Linked DNA regions of Homo sapiens: regions 2, 3, 4, 5 and 6 are each linked to region 1. Evidence: promoter capture Hi-C in 16 types of primary human blood cells and fetal thymus (Javierre and others, 2016). All regions are on one chromosome and are shown on one strand. Each heading gives the region's core, a stretch centred on a gene start or on the middle of the fragment in contact. The rest is flanking DNA. Distances are from core to core; before and after follow the strand shown. Region 1 holds the start of LDLRAP1 (low density lipoprotein receptor adaptor protein 1). Region 2 overlaps MAN1C1 (mannosidase alpha class 1C member 1). Region 3 overlaps MAN1C1 (mannosidase alpha class 1C member 1). Region 4 overlaps MAN1C1 (mannosidase alpha class 1C member 1). Region 5 has its middle 6.4 kb from the start of SELENON. Region 6 overlaps MAN1C1 (mannosidase alpha class 1C member 1).

Evidence for each region. The method cuts DNA at HindIII sites, captures the fragments that hold promoters and counts their contacts. A CHiCAGO score of 5 or more calls a contact.
Region 2: a fragment that was not itself captured here is called in contact with the fragment with the promoter of LDLRAP1 in region 1 in 4 of 17 cell types (megakaryocytes, naive CD4 T cells, non-activated CD4 T cells and 1 more); the score reaches 6.9 in megakaryocytes.
Region 3: a fragment that was not itself captured here is called in contact with the fragment with the promoter of LDLRAP1 in region 1 in 1 of 17 cell types (naive CD4 T cells); the score reaches 6.1 in naive CD4 T cells.
Region 4: a contact is called between a fragment that was not itself captured here and the fragment with the promoter of LDLRAP1 in region 1, in 1 of 17 cell types (naive CD4 T cells). The highest score is 7.2, in naive CD4 T cells.
Region 5: a fragment that was not itself captured here is called in contact with the fragment with the promoter of LDLRAP1 in region 1 in 6 of 17 cell types (naive CD4 T cells, naive CD8 T cells, total CD8 T cells and 3 more); the score reaches 8.9 in naive CD4 T cells.
Region 6: a contact is called between a fragment that was not itself captured here and the fragment with the promoter of LDLRAP1 in region 1, in 3 of 17 cell types (naive CD4 T cells, total CD4 T cells and non-activated CD4 T cells). The highest score is 7.7, in naive CD4 T cells.

What each region holds. Positions count from the first base shown.
Region 1 is chr1:25,542,174-25,544,873 of GRCh38, forward strand. It overlaps LDLRAP1 (low density lipoprotein receptor adaptor protein 1), which reads left to right and starts at 1,433. Exons shown (of 9, transcript NM_015627.3): 1 at 1,433-1,613. The coding sequence starts at 1,526. RefSeq lists an enhancer at 1,103-1,162 and silencers at 1,263-1,722, 1,753-1,932. The HindIII fragment of the contact is 5,608 bases long and covers 489-2,700 here.
Region 2 is chr1:25,764,808-25,767,507 of GRCh38, forward strand. The region is part of intron 7 of MAN1C1 (mannosidase alpha class 1C member 1); the gene reads left to right. Among named protein-coding and RNA genes, the nearest start is that of SELENON, 34 kb to the right of the region's middle. The HindIII fragment of the contact is 477 bases long and covers 1,123-1,599 here.
Region 3 is chr1:25,713,196-25,715,895 of GRCh38, forward strand. The region is part of intron 2 of MAN1C1 (mannosidase alpha class 1C member 1); the gene reads left to right. Among named protein-coding and RNA genes, the nearest start is that of SELENON, 86 kb to the right of the region's middle. The HindIII fragment of the contact is 172 bases long and covers 1,186-1,357 here.
Region 4 is chr1:25,738,081-25,740,780 of GRCh38, forward strand. All of the region lies in intron 2 of MAN1C1 (mannosidase alpha class 1C member 1), which reads left to right. Among named protein-coding and RNA genes, the nearest start is that of SELENON, 61 kb to the right of the region's middle. The HindIII fragment of the contact is 453 bases long and covers 1,176-1,628 here.
Region 5 is chr1:25,792,401-25,795,100 of GRCh38, forward strand. No RefSeq gene overlaps it. Among named protein-coding and RNA genes, the nearest start is that of SELENON, 6.4 kb to the right of the region's middle. The HindIII fragment of the contact is 4,966 bases long and covers 1-2,700 here.
Region 6 is chr1:25,694,033-25,696,732 of GRCh38, forward strand. The region is part of intron 2 of MAN1C1 (mannosidase alpha class 1C member 1); the gene reads left to right. Among named protein-coding and RNA genes, the nearest start is that of MAN1C1, 79 kb to the left of the region's middle. RefSeq lists an enhancer at 1,678-2,177 and a silencer at 1,906-2,200. The HindIII fragment of the contact is 4,437 bases long and covers 1-2,700 here.

The sequences.
Region 1 (2,700 bases), core at 183-2,682:
TGTGTCCTCCCTCTGGCTCCTTTTGGCACAGTTTGAAAGGAAGGCATGGCATCCTAGAGAGTTAGAACAAATCCTTCCAATCCTGGAGTTAGAACATCTGTGCCTGAGCAATTCTGGGGTTCAGACTGCCCTCCGAATGCTCCTAGGAAGCAGCTTGGGGTCAGGGTCAAGGTCATGCAGATTCTTGACCCTGGCAGGTTGGAAGGATCACTAGAGATAGCATTGACTCTCATTCACAGATAAACAAGACTCAGAGAGGGGAAGTACTTGCCTGAGGTCACACAGCAAGTCAGTGTCAGGGGCACGTTCCAGATCATACCATCTGTGAGGCTACCTGGGAAGTTGCGGGGGCATGGGGTGGCCCAGCATGCTCAGGTGGTGCCAGGGAGCAGCCTGGGAGCTACGAGGATGAGTAAAGTGCCTGGCTGGACTTGCTAAAGGCAAATTTTTATATACCGACCCTGCGCCTAACAAGGGTCTATACTGCAAGCTTGTCCAACCTGTGGCCCACTGGCCATGTGAGGTCCAGGACGGCTTTGAATGGAGCCCAACACAAATTGGTAAAGGTTCTTAAAACATTATGAGATTTTTTTGGGCAGGGTGTGGTGGCTCACAGCCATCCCAGCACTTTGGGAGGCTGAGGCGGGCAGATCACTTGAGGTCAGGAGTTCGAGACCAGCCTGGCCAACATGGTAAAACTCCATCTCTATTAATAATACAAAAATTAGCCAGGCATGGTGGTGCATGCCTGTAATCCCAGCTACTCGGGAGGCTGAGGCATGAGAATAGCTTGAACCCGGGAGGTAGAGGTTGCAGTGACCCGAGATCGCACCACTGCACTCCAACCTGGGCAACAGAGTGAAACTCTGTCTCAGGGGAAAAAAAACAATACAGAAAAACAAAAAACATGAGTGTGTGTGTATATATATATATTTCAGCTCATCAGCTGTCGTTAGTGTTAGTGTATTTCATGTGTGGCCCAAGACACTTCTTCTTCCAATGTGGCCTAAGGAAGCCAAAAGTTTGGATATCCCTGGCTTACAGCCTCCACTATTTCCTAAGTCTCCCACTGCCCTGGACATCGCATTGCTTTTGTCCCTGAACAAGATCTTTCACCACTGGAGGAGCCCTCAGTCTCCCCATCTGTAAAATGGTCACTGGAAATCCTAGGCCGCTGCTCTCAGGCCCTCAGGCCCCTACGGGGTGGGGATTGGGGAAAAGGAGGAAAGCGGGGGCGTCTAGGGCTTGCGATTTGCTATCTTCTGGCGCCTTCGGGCGGCCTCGGAAACTCTTGGTGCCTGGACCTGGAGCCTGGACAGGGACCGGGCGGGGCGAGACCGGCCGTCGGGGGCGCGGCCCGTCTGGGGGCGGGGCCTGTCCTCTCTCGCCCCGCCCCGTCGGACGCCGCGGCGGAGCTGGCGCTGGGAGGGGAGGAGCGCGCAGCCCGCGCGCCGCAGGGCCGGGCGGAAAGTTTTTCCTGACGGAGTTTTGGCTGCGGCAGCGGCGGCGGCGGCCGGAGCGGGCCATGGACGCGCTCAAGTCGGCGGGGCGGGCGCTGATCCGGAGCCCCAGCTTGGCCAAGCAGAGCTGGGGGGGCGGTGGCCGGCACCGCAGTGAGTGTGCGCGCGTCAGCCGGGCCGGGCCGGGATCGGGCAGAGGCGCGCGGGGCCTCCGCGGGCGCCCGGAGTGCGGCCAAGTTGGGCAGAGGCGGGGCCTCACCGGCGCTCCGGTCCCGGCGTGGCCCTTTCCCGGCCCTGCGGGGCAGGGGGTCGGCCGGGGTCAAGTTGTGCACCTACTCGCCGGCCGCTCGATGCCGCTGCGAGGAGGGGCAGCGCTGAGGAAGGAGCCCGAGCTCGGGGTCCTCAGGTGCAGCCGGCATGGGGTGGGGTGCAGGTTGGGAGAAGAGGCCCCCGCCACCCGCGGCACCTCCCGCCCTGCTGTCCTGGCCAGCTAGGGGGAGGCAGGCGCTCGTCGTCGGTGCCTAGGGGAGGAGGAGAGGGCGCAGGGGCTTGGGAAGACGCCCCCGTCCCGCACCCCTGCGCCCCAGCCAGCAGCTGCGGCGGTCAGGAGCCCACTGGCCCGTTCTCCCGCCCCCTGCCCGACCCACCGGGCCAACTTTTGACTCCGGGTGCCCAGACACCCATCCAGGTGTGAGCCCGGGGTCGCAGGTACGTACTTGAAATTGGGAACGAGGCCCCGCCTGGGGTGCCTCGGGAGAGCCCCACATCAGGCGATCTAGACCCTTACGTCCCTTCCTCTAGCCGGGTCCAGGTGGCAAGCCTGGCGTCCCGACTATTTTTGAAACCTGTTTTCTCTCGCACCTTTCCCCTCGGGCTTCCAGAGTCCCTTGGGTGCCCAGGCAAACGACAGACTCGCCGCCACCTCTCCCTGGGGCGTCTGGGAGGCTGGGAGGGGCCTCCCCCCCTTTCTCTCCCCCAGTCTCTGATTACGCTCAGGGAACTTGTCACCTGGCACCTTCCCCTGAAGCCAGAAGACCCAGCCTAGCGCAGGTCTCGTTGTTTGGGAGGGAGAAGAGAGTGGCTTGCCTGGGGTCACACACACCTTCCTGCTGGTTTTGGAGCCAGAGCCCAGGACTGCTGCACACTCCCACCTCCCTGCCACCTACTTCGGGCCACAGCTTCTCCCCTCATCAGGAAACAACTGACAGTACAGCACCCCCTCATCCCATCCCCTCTTGGC
Region 2 (2,700 bases), core at 111-2,610, 220 kb after region 1:
GGGAGGCCGAGGCAGGCGGATCACGAGGTCAGGAGTTCTAGACCAGCCTGGCCAACATGGCGAAACCCTGTCTCTACTAAAAATACAAAAAGTAGCTGGGTGTGGTGGCACGTGTCTCTAGTCCCAGCTACTCAGGAGGCTGAGGCAGGAGAATCGCTTGAACCCGGGAGGCGGAGGTTGCAGTGAGCCAAGACCGCACCACTGCACTTCAACCTGGGCGACAGAGCAAGACTCCGTCCCAAAAAAAAACAAAAGACGTCATGAATTCATCTATACATCTTAGACCTACAAGAATCAGTCCCAGAGTTTTCAGAAGGTCTCTGTTCAGAGACTTGTTTCTCAGCCAGATAACAGCCAGTCACCCATGGAACATCATTCACAAGCCCCCAGCCCTACCCATTGCAACAGAATGGGGTTTGGGGTCGCTTAGGTGTGAGAGTGTGGACAAGTCCCCCAGGCCTCTGGAATGTGCATGCCTGTTGAGAAGCCCAGCTCTGGGAAGCAGAGGCAGGCCCTGGTCACATGGTCATGGTCAGCTGGAACTGGCAGTGACAGGTTCCGTGGGCACTGCCTCTAGGGCCTCCCAAGACCTGGCAGAGCCCCCACCCCCACTGTCTGTGTGCAAACAAGGACCCCCTTCCCTTTCCCCTGCCTCCAACCCAGTTTTTGTGACATCAGCAAGGGCTCAGGGGCAAAGTGGGTATGAGTCTAATGACTGTGTGGCTTAGGGGGGAATTCACTGTATCTCTTTGAACCTTGGTTTCCTGTCCTGCAAAATGAAAGAAGAGAATGAGATGCATTCTTTGTGTGCCATGGAGGGGCGTAGGAAGAATGGTCAAAGGCTGCAGGAAACAGATTTCACTTCCATCTGCCAAAGATGGTCCAAGTTGTCCCAAAAGGGAACAATGCAAGTGGGGCCTAGAGAGGCAGCATTGGGGACACTGTGGCGAAGCAGCTGAGGCCTTTCCTTCCAACCTGAACCTCCCCCAGAAAACTCAACCCAGGAATTTCCCCCAGGGACGACCTCACCCCAAGTGGCCTCCCGTAAAAACCACTTAGAGAAATGCAGAGTATTTTTAACCAAAACACACTGCCGAATCCAAAAGTACGGGGAGAAAATGAAGCTTGAATTGCAGATTATAGCCACGGGAAGAGGCAGTTCGATAACAGTTGCTGGTTTTAATTGCGAGACCTGACTGGATAAGGAGATAAACCCCTCTGAGCTGCTCCAGGGCAAGGCAGCAGAACCCATGAAAAGGGCTGAAAGGGGTGTGGGCTTCCTAGCTCAACAGTTACCTTGGCAAATTATAAGGGAGCCCCTGCCGGGAAGCATAATTTTCTTCTCAGGCAGAGTCAGGGCCTGCAGGTCTGGGCAAAGTCAGTCGCATATGGGAAATTGTTTCCTATTAATAAAATCTGAGCCCTCGGCCTGCTAAAGAGCAGAGGGGGTTATAATGCCCAGCTCGCCCAAACGTCTGCCTTCCTCCTCCCCTGGCCTTGGTGCCCGGGGTCATCTCAGGTTTCCTGTGGTTTTTTGTTGGTTTTTTTTTTGGTGCATACGTATTCTTTTAGCACTTGATAGCATTACCACCTTGCATAAGCTTAAGTGCACGCACATCATTTTCTCTTCTTGAATCTTCAGAACAAGCCTGAAGGCAGGACAGGCAGGTTCTGCGTAGCCCATTTGCAACCACAGAAATTGCAGCCTAGAGAAACGAAGGAGGAGTTAGGACTGCATCTCAGTTACCTAGGCCTCTGCTCTTGTTGGCTTCCCACTCCTCCTGGAAACCGAGCTTCAGGGGTAACAGGGGAGCCCCAAGACCCGTCCTATTGCTAAGAGTTCACATCCAGGATAAATCCACCAGGCTCCCGATGGTGCCCAACACAAATGAGACCACCCTGAGGCCAACCCCCTGAGAGCTGCCGAGGAGGGGTCACCAGCCCCTCGGTGCGGCACCTGAGTAACTTGTCCACTGCCTGAATCCCACACTTTCTTCTGTGGGAGGGAAGTGGCAAGTCCAGACCTCCTTGGTAGGTACAGGAGTGTGAGCTGCAGCCTGGCAGCTTCCCTGGCATCAGATCGGCTGATTTCCAGGCTTGTGGCCCAGCCTCCTGCTGCCAGGTGTGACGAGCGCATTGGCACGGTCAGGAAGCAGCAGAGCCTGCCTCTGCTCTGGGGCTCACGGACACCAGCTCGTGCCCCCTTCACACATCTGCAGATGGGGAGACCAAGGCCCAGAGTGGGCAGGGGTGCACCCTGAGCTAATGCAGAACAATGTCTTCTCATTCCTATGCCTGTGCTTCTCCCAGCCCGCCTCGCAGTGTTGGGGAAGACCACACTCGTACACACACACACACACCCCTACCACCCCACCCACCCTCCCAGACACACACACATTACACACTCCCCCATACACACACACCCACACTCCCCTCACATCCACACTCCCCTCACACACACACATTACACACTACATACACTCCTACTCTCCCCTCACACACCCACACTCCCCTCACACACTCCCCCCACACACAGACCCACACACCACTACCCTCACATACGTCCACACTCCACACACACACACACACACCCCTACCACCCCACCCACCCTCCCAGACACACACACATTACACACTCCACCATACACACAGACCCACACACCCACACTCCCCTCACATACATCCACACTTCCCTCACAC
Region 3 (2,700 bases), core at 22-2,521, 170 kb after region 1:
TCCAGTGCTCTTTCTACTATATGTCATGTCCTCTCATAATGAGGTGGGGGTGGGGAACAAGGAGATGGAGGGATGTGTTGGGTGCTTTTGTGTTACCACATTGCACCCTCATCACAGTCAGGTGAGATGGTGCCATACCCACTTTATAGATGAGGAAACAGACCCAGGTAAGCTGAGTGATTTGCCCAGCATAAGCATACCAAATGGCAAAGCAAAATTCATACGCAGGTTTTGAGTCTCCACAGCAGCAGGCAGAGACCTACTTTCTAGAAAGAGTTTATTAGGGTCCAGTCTAGTGGGTGAAACAGATAAGCAGGACACGACAGTGCACAATCTAGGCACAGGCTCTTGAAAGCAGCTCTCTGGAGGCTGGAACTATTTTGCTAGAGGTGTTTGGATGCTGCTGTCTAACCCGAGACATGGAGTTTATATAGGACTGTTGGGCCCTAAGCCTTCCTGATTCATATGAGGTCTGAAAAGAGGCCCATGGATGTGCCTCATCTCCGGCCTCTGTTCAGACTAGGGTACACAGACACATAAATCGTTATAATGCAGCCTGCACAGGTGATCAGAGGGCCATGGAGAAGGCATTCCTTGGGCTCAGTTTAACACAGCACCAGAGTTTGGACTTCGCTGGGCCCAGTGTCTGCTCTTTGCTGCCGGGAACCAAGGCTCCAGGTTCCTCATGCACTTGCAAGTGACTGGAGCTTCCGAGGGAGTTAAATCAACCTTCGTGTTTCCTGTAGCCCCTCCTCAAATAGACACACCAGCTGGCATTTTTCCTTAAATACCACTCATTTTTAAAAGGGGAAAAAAATGTTGGTGGCTTTGAAATAGATCACACTTTAAAATGCAGCGTAGCAGAGAGTCAGTTCAAATTATTCTCTTAATAGAGTTCTTCAGAGTGAGGAAGTGATGAGGGAACATAATCACTTCTTTTGTCATATGGGCGAAATCTGAGGACTGCGATTCATTTGTCTGCAAATGTGTCTCTTCGGTACAAATTGCAGCAAGCAATCCATTCCCAGGGTAAATGGTCTTTAATTAAAGTCAGTCAGTTGTCTTGGATGGTTAGGGGAGGAGAGGGGTTTGAAGCACAAACTAATACACACTTTTATCCCTTCAAAAATAAAAAAGAATATATTTCTAAGTGACATTGACTCCTTGATTTGATAATTAGGGAAAAGCTTTGTTTATAAGTAAAACTATTCTGGCTCTTATTCATGAATAAAAATGTTTGCAGTAAGGCCTCTGAGAAGCAGTAGAAGAATTTCTTTACCAACCCTGGTAAAAATGCATCCTCAAGCATTGATTTTTGTAGCTGAAGTGCATTATGTGTTCTGCATGAGCTTTTGAAAGCTTAGATAAATGAGGTGGCTCAGAAAGCAGATAAAAAAAAATGGGAGGAAATTATACCGATCCAAAAGAAGATAAATGTCCACTAATTCTCAGATTAACATTTTAGACTCCTGTGTTTTTATAGGGGAATTTTTGCAATGCTGATAATGTGAGATTGGTTTACAATGTCACATACCAGGTAGAATCAATGAAGCTTTGTTCGAGCTCTCAGAGTCAGCTACACTCTAAAGGAAGTGGAGTTAATGCCACAAGCTGGTGGTACCCTGGCTCCCACCTGTATTAAGTGCTAGCACTACACCTAAGATGACATATTTTAAGGGTGACATTGACCCTCAAGGTCAACTATGTTAGTCTGCACTCTCCAGTTTGCAAGATGCAAAAAAACTCAAGCCCATTTAAGTTCAATTTACTAGATCACTTGATTGAAAGTCACTAGGATTAGACTTCAGGCACAGCTTGATCCACGTCTCAAATGAAGACGGACACTCTGTTTATTTCTCTTCCCTGTGGCCTGTTTTCACTGTCTTCATTCTCAGGTTGTTCTTCCTTGATGTGAACAAGCTGGTACAACAACTTTAGCCTGCCCAACCTGTGTCTGGTGCAGAAGAGCTAGTGCCACTCTGTTTCAGTTTAAGCCCAAAATTAGTGCTGGTGAGCTTTAATTGGGCCCATGGCTCTGCCTATCCCTAACTCATCCTCATGTCCAGAGGGATGAAAGGGCTGGACTGACCAAGGCCTAGGTCACATGATCATTCCCATTGCTGGGGTCAAGGCAGTTCTACCTCAAGCAGAACATGGACTAGGAGTTGGGAAGGAGGGGAGGTGTAGAAGGTGATTCAGGGACCCGTCAACTAGAGAAAGTATAGGTGGATGCTGGGCTGTGAAACCCTAGATTTCTGCCACATCAGCCTTTCACTCCTTCTCTCAACGAATACCTAAGCACTCACAACAGACTTTGTGGACCTAGGTGTGAAAGTTACTGTGGTGAACAGAAAGGTCCAGGCTCTGCCCTCAGAGAGCATCTAGCTGGTCTTGTGCCAGGGCTTGAACCATGCCATGGTCTTTCAGCTGACTAGATGTCTTTACTGAGCACCTACTATGTGCCAAGCCCTGGAAACAGAAAGATGAGGAAAGCCAGGGCCTCTCCCTTGAGCAGTATAGAGCAGAAGAACGATGGTGGTTTCAGGAGAGCCTGAGGCACTAAGGATGCTAGCACTTCACATCTTTCTCTGCTACTGTTCATTTTATCTGGTAGGATTGGATTCTGTTGGAACTCAGGAAACCCAAAATAGCAAGCCTTAACCAAATAGTTTATTTCTTTTTCATTTACAGGTCCAGGTA
Region 4 (2,700 bases), core at 152-2,651, 200 kb after region 1:
TCATGTATCAGCCTCCAGTAAGAGCATTCTATTGGGTTCCAGGAAGAATCCCTAAAAAATATCTTTCCTTCCAGAGGCTTCAAGAAACCTTTGCCTGGAAATATTCAGCCTCAGAGCACAGTGCTATGTCACCCAGGAAATAGCTATCATGGGAAAATTCAAGGAAAATATTCCTGCTCAAGGAAAAAAAATTAAAACACGACACACGAGAAACAGACCAGATAGAAATGGAGAGGTCCCAGTCCGTAAATGGGTTTTATGCCGCCAGAAGACCTCATCATATTAGACGATCTGGTTTTAAACAATAAACTTTGGGTAATGGGGATGTCACTTTAATTCATCTTCCTAAAAAACCCATGTGGCAAAAACATTCCAGTTGCTATTGCTACATTGCAAATTACTCCAAAACTTGGGGGCTTAAAACAATTATTTTATTATGCTCACAGATTGAGTGGGTCAGTAATTCAGAAAGGGCACAACAGGGGACAGCTTGTCTCTGTGCAGTCATGTATAGACCCTCAGCTGGGAAGGCTTGAAGGCTGAGGCTGACTCGACAGCTGGGTGGTAGTATTATCTGGAAGCTTTTTGAGTCATGCGTTGCAATTGATGCTGGCTGTTGGCTAGAACCTCAGATGGGACTGTCAGTCAGAAAACTGATACATGGCTCTCTACATGTTTTCTCCTTGAGAGCTAGCTATCTTGGGCTTCCTTACAGTATGGTGGCTGGTTCCAAGATCCAACATTCTGAGAGGCAGGAAGTGGAAGCTGCCAGTTTCTTAAGGTCTGGGCCTTAAGGTCAAGCCAGGCACAGTGGCTCACACCTGTAATCCCAGTGCTTTGGGAGACTGAGATGGGAGGATCGCTTGAGGCCAGGAGTTCAAGACCAGCCTGGACAACATAGTGAGACCCCCATCTCTACAAAAAAATTTTAAAAGTTATCCAGGCATGGTGGTGCACTCCTGTAGCCCCTGCTTCTCGGGAGTTCAAGGATGCAGTAAGCTATGATCACACCACTGCACTCCAGCCTGGATGACAGAGCAAGAGACCCTGTCTCAAAAAAATAAAGAAAATAGCACCTCATCCTTTCTGCTTCATTCCGTTGGTCCAGATGATCACAATGGTCTGCCCAGGTTCAAGGGGAGGAGCCATGGGAGGTGTGTCAGTGTCACAAGAAAAGCTTCGTTCTTCTTGTGGGATAAGATACACCACAGCAGCTGCCTTTGAAAAGATGGTCTGCCACACAGCCACATGGGTTTCTGTGGATGCTGAGAAAAACGTGTGTGTTGTTTCTTTACAGATTAAGAAAAGTCTGTGCATTGTCTCATTAAATTAAATGCAGCCATTAGTATGTGGCTCTGGGGATATTGTGGGAATAGGCTATGCCTTGGGTGATTTTTTTTCTTCTAAATGTTCTTCCTGGAGTTTGTGTTGCCAGCCTGACCATTTCTCTTTGCTAATATGATATCACATAAAAACATCATCATCATTAATATGGCAGAGTCAGCAGGGTGGGATACAGACCGTGATCCAGGGAGGCAGGCTGGTTCCTGGCTCAGCAGCTCCTGGGGAGGAGGTTCTGGGAGCTGGAGGTTCATTTCCTTGTAGAGATTGACACGCTCTTCACAGAAAGCTTTGTGCAGGGCGAGGCTTTGGGCACATGTTGTCACTCTGGGCAGCCTGGTGGGAGGGTCTTTGTCTAGTGGTGGCAGCCCCTGGAGTAGACACTTAACCCTGCTCTGGACGTAGTCACCACAGACGCCCATGCTGTGGGCTCGTTTTGTTCAGCCGAACCCCTTACCTTTAATGCCTCCTAGGGTCAGACTGTAGCCAGGCACTGGGAGTTGTGAATGCGCCACAGCCCCCCTTGAAGCCCTCCCCATCCAGTTGGAGGGGGCCTTTCTTTCATTCCTAAATACTTACGGGCCCCCGTGGGGGCTGGAAAGTGTTCTGGGCAGTGGAAGGTGGCGGTGAACCGAGTTCTCTCCCTAGGAGCCAACCCCTCAGGAGAAGACAGAGTGGCTGGGAAAGCAGATCCGTGCGTGATGCCCCTGGTGATGAAGGCTGGGGAAAACCAGAGAAGACAAGGAGACAGTGAGTGGCATGAACAGTTTCAGCAGAGTAGCCCGCAGCTACCAGGGCCTAGGCAAGGAGCAGGTTTGGAGGCCGAAGTGGAGGCTGAAGGGACAGCGTGCAGCCAAAGTGGAGGAGGAGAGGCAGTGAGGGAACCAGGACAGATCACAGGGCCCCAGGGACGGGAAGGACTAAGGCTTTCAACTCTCAGTCAGATGGGAGCCATGGGGGGTTTCGAGCAGAGGAGTGGCATGATATGACTTGAATTTTTGTTGTTGTTGTTGTTGTTGTTGTCGTTGTTGTTGTGACGGAGTCTCGCTCTGTCACCCAGGTTGAAGTGCAGTGGCGCTATCTCGGCTCACTGCAAGCTCCGCCTCCCGAGTTCATGCCATTCTCCTGTCTCAGCCTCCCAAGCAGCTGGGACTATAGGCGCCCGCCACCATGCCCGGCTAATTTTTTGTATTTTTAGTAGAGACGGGGTTTCACTGTGTTAGCCAGGATGGTCTCGATCTCCTGACCTCGTGATCCACCCGCCTTGGCCTCCCAAAGTGCTGGGATTACAGGCGTGAGCCACCGCGCCCGGCTGACTTGAATTTTTTAAAAAATCTCTCTGGCTGCAACGCTGAGGAC
Region 5 (2,700 bases), core at 201-2,700, 250 kb after region 1:
AATACTACTGTTTTCCATGGCTCCGGTGTTAAGCCTTTGTTGTGCTTTAATTTTCCGTGGCTCTAGTGTTTTAAACCAGTCCTATTTCTCCTTGAGTTTTTAAGTGAAACTTTAAAAAAAAATTTTTTTTGAGATATAATGTAGATACAGTAATGTGTAAAATGCACTATTCTTTTTTTTTTTTTTTTTTTTTTGAGACACGATGTCACTCTGTCGCCCAGGCTGGCGTGCAATGGCGCAATCTCAGCTCACTGCAAATTCCGCCTCCCAGGTTTAAGCGATTCTCATGCTTCAGCCTCCCGAGTAGCTGGGACTACAGGACCACACCCGGCTAATTTTTGTATTTTTGGTAGAAACGGGGTTTCACCATGTTAGCCAGGTTGTTCTTGAACTCCTGACCTCAGGTGATCCACCCGCCTCAGCCTCCCAAAGTGTCGGGATTACAGGCGTGAGCCATTGCACCCAGCCTAAAACGCACTATTCTTAAATGACCAGCTCAAGGAATGTTGACCTATATGCACGCTCATATGACCACCTCCCCAGTCAAGATCAAGACTATTCCAGCACCCAGAAGGCTTGCATGTGCTGCTTCTAGTCAATACCTGCCATCCCCAGAGCAAACCCTATGTGGACCTCTTTCACCATCACCTAATTTCAGGCACAGACATTTCATTCTTTTCATGGTTTTTTGCATTATAAACATTCCACTGAGGCTGGGTATAGTGGCTCACACCTGTAATCCCAGCACTTTGGGAGGTCAAGGCGGGAGGCTGGCTTGAGGCCAGGAGTTCAAGGCTGCAGTGAGCTATGATCATGCCATAGCACTGCAGCCAGGGCAACAGAGTGAGACCCCATCTCAAAATAAAATAGGCTGGGTATAGTGGCTCACAACCATAATCCCAGCACTTTCGGAGGCCGAGGTGGGCGGATCACCTGAGGTCAGGAGTTAGAGACCAGCCTGGCCAACATGGTGAAACCCCATCTCTACTAAACATACAAAAATTAGCCGGGTGTGGTGGCAGGCGCCTGTAATCCCAGCTACTCGGGAGGCTGAGGTGGGAGGCTCTCTTGAGCCCAGGAGGCAGAGGTAAGAGGATCAGTTGAGCCTGGGAGGCAGAGATTGCAGTGAGCTGAAGTTGCACCACTGTACTCCAGCCAGGGTGACAGTGAGACCTTGTCTCAAAAAAAAAAAAAAATCCTCTGCATTTTCTGTCTTAATTTATATGATACAACTTATAACCACTTAGCTCCTGTCTAATAAGGATGCTCACACTTTCTTGTCTGGTCATTATGAAGCCCTCTTGTACCCATTTGTGGTAAAAAAAAAAAAAACCTCTGAAGTGCACAACCAAGATCAGAGATGATGAAATAAAGCCTCTCAGATGCAAGCTGAGCTATGCCTCTCCCTTGTTTGGGTGACTAGCTCATCCCAGTTAGGGCTTTCTTGCTTGTAGGACCGAATATCCCACATCCTCGGTGCTCCATCAGTGTCAGTCCTGAGCAGACCAGGGTGGCTGACCCCCCAGCACGGTTCCCTCCTTGGCCCTGGACCCAGTTCAAAACACACAAGACAAGTGGAACAGAATTCAGGCCAGATCATCCGGTACCATCTGCCTGTGCCTGACACTCACCGTTGGAAAGGCCCCGAATGTCAAACTCTTTTTTGTGGCTTGTGTGTGGAACTTGGCCGTCTTTACATTTTCTCCCTCAAAATCACTGGAGAGCTGGTAAAAATGTCCCTCTTTCCCCCAACCAACTGGGGGTTGGCCCCAAGCATTGGTCTCCTTCAAAGGCCCCAGGTGACTAGTGGGCAGCCAGGCTGGGTAACCAGGACCTCTGCACTCGTGATGCTGAGACTAAATCTGTCCATCTGGCAAAGTCCCGGGGGCATTTACTGACCCCGGGAAACAAATCTCTCTCCCAGCCTGGACAGTACGAGAGCCAAGCCAAGCCTGTCATGACCTCTAACGTTAATCTATTTTTTGGCTAATCACAGCCACAGCTCCATGCCTGTAAATCCAGCCAAAGCCACTCAACATTCCAAGACACGGCGGCATCTGTGGCCACATAGGCCAAAGGCGGCTTCTCTTCTCTCTCTTCAATGATCTCATTGAATCTTGTGGCTTTAAGTGCCATTTTTAGACTGGCAACTCCCAGATTTATAATCCACGCCCCCCTTCCCTACCGTTCATAGCCCCATAGTCATACACACACAACTGCCTCCTTGACACCTCCGTGAGGGTGACTCTCAGGCATCTTTTTTTTTTTTTTTGAGCTGGAGTCTCCCTCTATCACCAGGCTGGAGTGCAGTGGTGTGATCTTGGCTCACTGCAACCTCAGCCTTCCAGGTTCAAGCGATTCTCCTGCCTCAGCCTCCCGAGTAGCTGGGACTACAGGCGTGCGCCACCACGCCCAGCTAATTTTTTGTATTTTTAGTAAAGATGGGGTTTCACCATGTTGGCCAGGATGGTCTCGACCTCCTGACCTCATGATCCGCCCACCCCAGCATCCCAAAGTGCTGGGATTATAGGCGTGAGCCACCACGCCCAGCCAGCTCTCAGGCATCTTAACCTGGCAGACTGGACCAAGCCTTCTCCCCAGCCGGGGTCCCTCCAGGGTGCCTCATCTCAGGATGGTGCCACCAGCTACCCAAGCTCAACCCATGGCTGATGCTGGTCTTTCCTCTTGCCGTCCACTTCT
Region 6 (2,700 bases), core at 22-2,521, 150 kb after region 1:
AACAGTGCCTGGTGCAGAGTAGGCTTTCAGTACATTTTGTAGAATAAATAAATTGCCTAGTGCAGTCTCTGAGTGCCCTATTTTCCCTCATGTCCTTCGGCCTGGGTTTGGCTGGGTAAGGGCTGGGTCTTGCTGTGTTCTCTATTCCTCTCATCCCCTGCAGCTGCCTTGACCTCTCGTCACAGAGTACACTCCGAATCAGCAGACAGACCCTGTAAAAAGTAGCAGTTCTGCTTAGTCAGCAGATCTGATGTTCAGGCCTCTTCTCTGTGCTTGTGTGGCCAAAAGTAACATCTCCCTGCTCTGAGCCAGCCCCAGGATGACCATGAGGAGCCCCAAATTGGATTCCGCCTCTGCCTCGCAAATCCCCAATAGAACTGCCAGCCAAATCCCCATTTTGAGGGATGATTTATGGCCTTGGGTGAGTTAAGAGGCAAAATGAACACAGCATGATTTTCAGATCACAGGCTGGGAATGTTCAGCCTTGGCAGAGAGAAAAATCATCTTTGCCTTGTAAACGGAGCAAATATGATGTTGAAGAGGGAATAAATCCAGGCCCCAAGATGTCATTTTTACAATTGCTTTTTGGCGTGTGACTTAGTAGTGCCTTCTGCAAACTGTTCATACTCTCCCCCTCCACACACACACACCAGCCTTGGTGGGTCTTTTTGTCGGGGTGAGAGTTACTCCACCAGTGTGGCTGCCTTGGGAACTGCAGATGTTGCCAGATAGATAGTTTGTGAAAACCAGCTGCTTCCCTAGTACGTGGATCTCCACGTATGTTTCTGGGAGGTAGCAGCTTTGACTTCAGAGATATGCCTGGGTTTAAATCCCATCCCTAGCACTTACCAGCTGAGTGAAATTGGGCAAGTCACAAACTTCTCTGAACCTCAGTCTACTCACCTGTGAAATGGGGGGTTAGCACATAGTAAGCCTTCACCAAACATTACATTTTTTTTCTTCCCTGCAGGTATACACACCCTTCCCGGTGTATACATTTGACTTATCTGGCTGAAAATACCATAACTACTTGATGAGTTTTGGTTTTTGGAGGTTTTTTTCTGGAGAAAAAAAATCCATAGCTCCTGGAAACTCAGTGTTGGGCTATGTTGCTCACTGATTCTGGCAGGCCGCGGTGCACATTCCTGACCCAGGCTTTGAGTTTGTTTTGAGAAAAAGCTGTCATCAGCTTTGTAAGTGGTGATGTTGCAATTCCTTGGATAGAATGGGTCAGGCTTAAGGGCAGCAAGCAAACCTTCCTGGTAGTCACATGCTTTGAGAGCCCTGAAAGCGCCATCCGGAGGCCAGAGGATATAAAAGTCGGAGGAAATGGCTTAGGAGCACTGGTCACTGATAGCCAGGCCCTTAGCCCAAGGAAGATAAGAGAACCTGCTGTTAGACAGATGCTACGGCCCCATGGTGGTCTCCTTGTGGCCTTGAGTGACATGTGCACAATTCCTCGGCCACCTTCTGATGATCAGAACATTCCTGGGGCCCAAGGGGTGATCATCAGAGCAAAGCACGCCTCGAAATTAGCTTGCTGCAGTGTCGTGCACTCACACCGCCGACCGACCACTCACCGCTCCACACTCTGCGCTTTCCTTCTTCAAAGAGTTTTTGCCAAGCAGTTTCTAATTAAGATGCATCTTGGCCATTTTCTTGTTCTTTAAAAGGCTTTCCACTAGCACAGAGCATAATTTATTTCTCTAGAAAATATAGTAGCAAGTTGTTGTCAAAAGAAAATTGGAGGTTAGGAGCCTTGGGTTCGTGTCCCCGCTCTGGCGCCAGCAGCCGAGTGAGCCGGCCTCCTCTGGGCCTCGTCTCTTCATCAGTACAAAGGGGTTTGCTTTGTCTCTGCCCAGGGTTCTGTGACTGCTGGTTGGTTACTAGGTTGATTTCTTTCTGTCTTTCTTTCTTTTTCATTTCGAAGGGGGTATTGGGCTGGTCTTCTTGGAATCTGAGATTTCAGCAACAAGTCTTGTTCCTGTCAGGAGAGGAGTGAGTCAGGGTGTCTATTCCCAGAGCAAGTTGCTGGGGATGTAGGAGATGATTCATATTGAAATTGACATTCTCTCCTGGTGGCAGCGTGTTCCGCCCACTTTGCGAAGACCTTTCCTTCCTTAGAAACAAGGCTGAGCCTACAGCAAGAGCCTCCTTTTCTTCTCACCGCATTGATGGCAGCACTTGCCAAGTTTCCCAGCAAACCCTGTGACAAATAGGTATGTGCATTCCCAGAATCTCAGACTACCAGGCCACTTGGATCCTTTGTAGCCTGTGGTCCAGTGTCTGAGGACCGGGAGGCAGGTCCTGAGAGGGCCGGGACTACCTGAGGTCAGACAGCCAGGATCGAACCCTGGTCTTCTAACTTGAGCCTCTATTTTTTTTTTGTTTTAAAATTACTTTTTAAAAATTGGGGTATAACTTATAACATGTCTACATTAAATTGCACAAATCTTAAGTGCACAGTCTAATGGATTTTACATATAGTTACCTCTGTGTAACTGCCATGCAGGTCAAGATTAAAAGCATTTCCATCACCCTAAAAGGTTCTCTCAGGTCCCTCCTAGTCTGTAGCTCCCCAAGGGTAGCTGCTGTTCTTTTTTTACTTTTCTTTTCCTTCTTTTTTTAAATATAGACAGGGTCTAGCTCTGTTGTCCAGACTGGAGTGCAGTGGTGTGACCATAGCTCACTGCAGCCTCT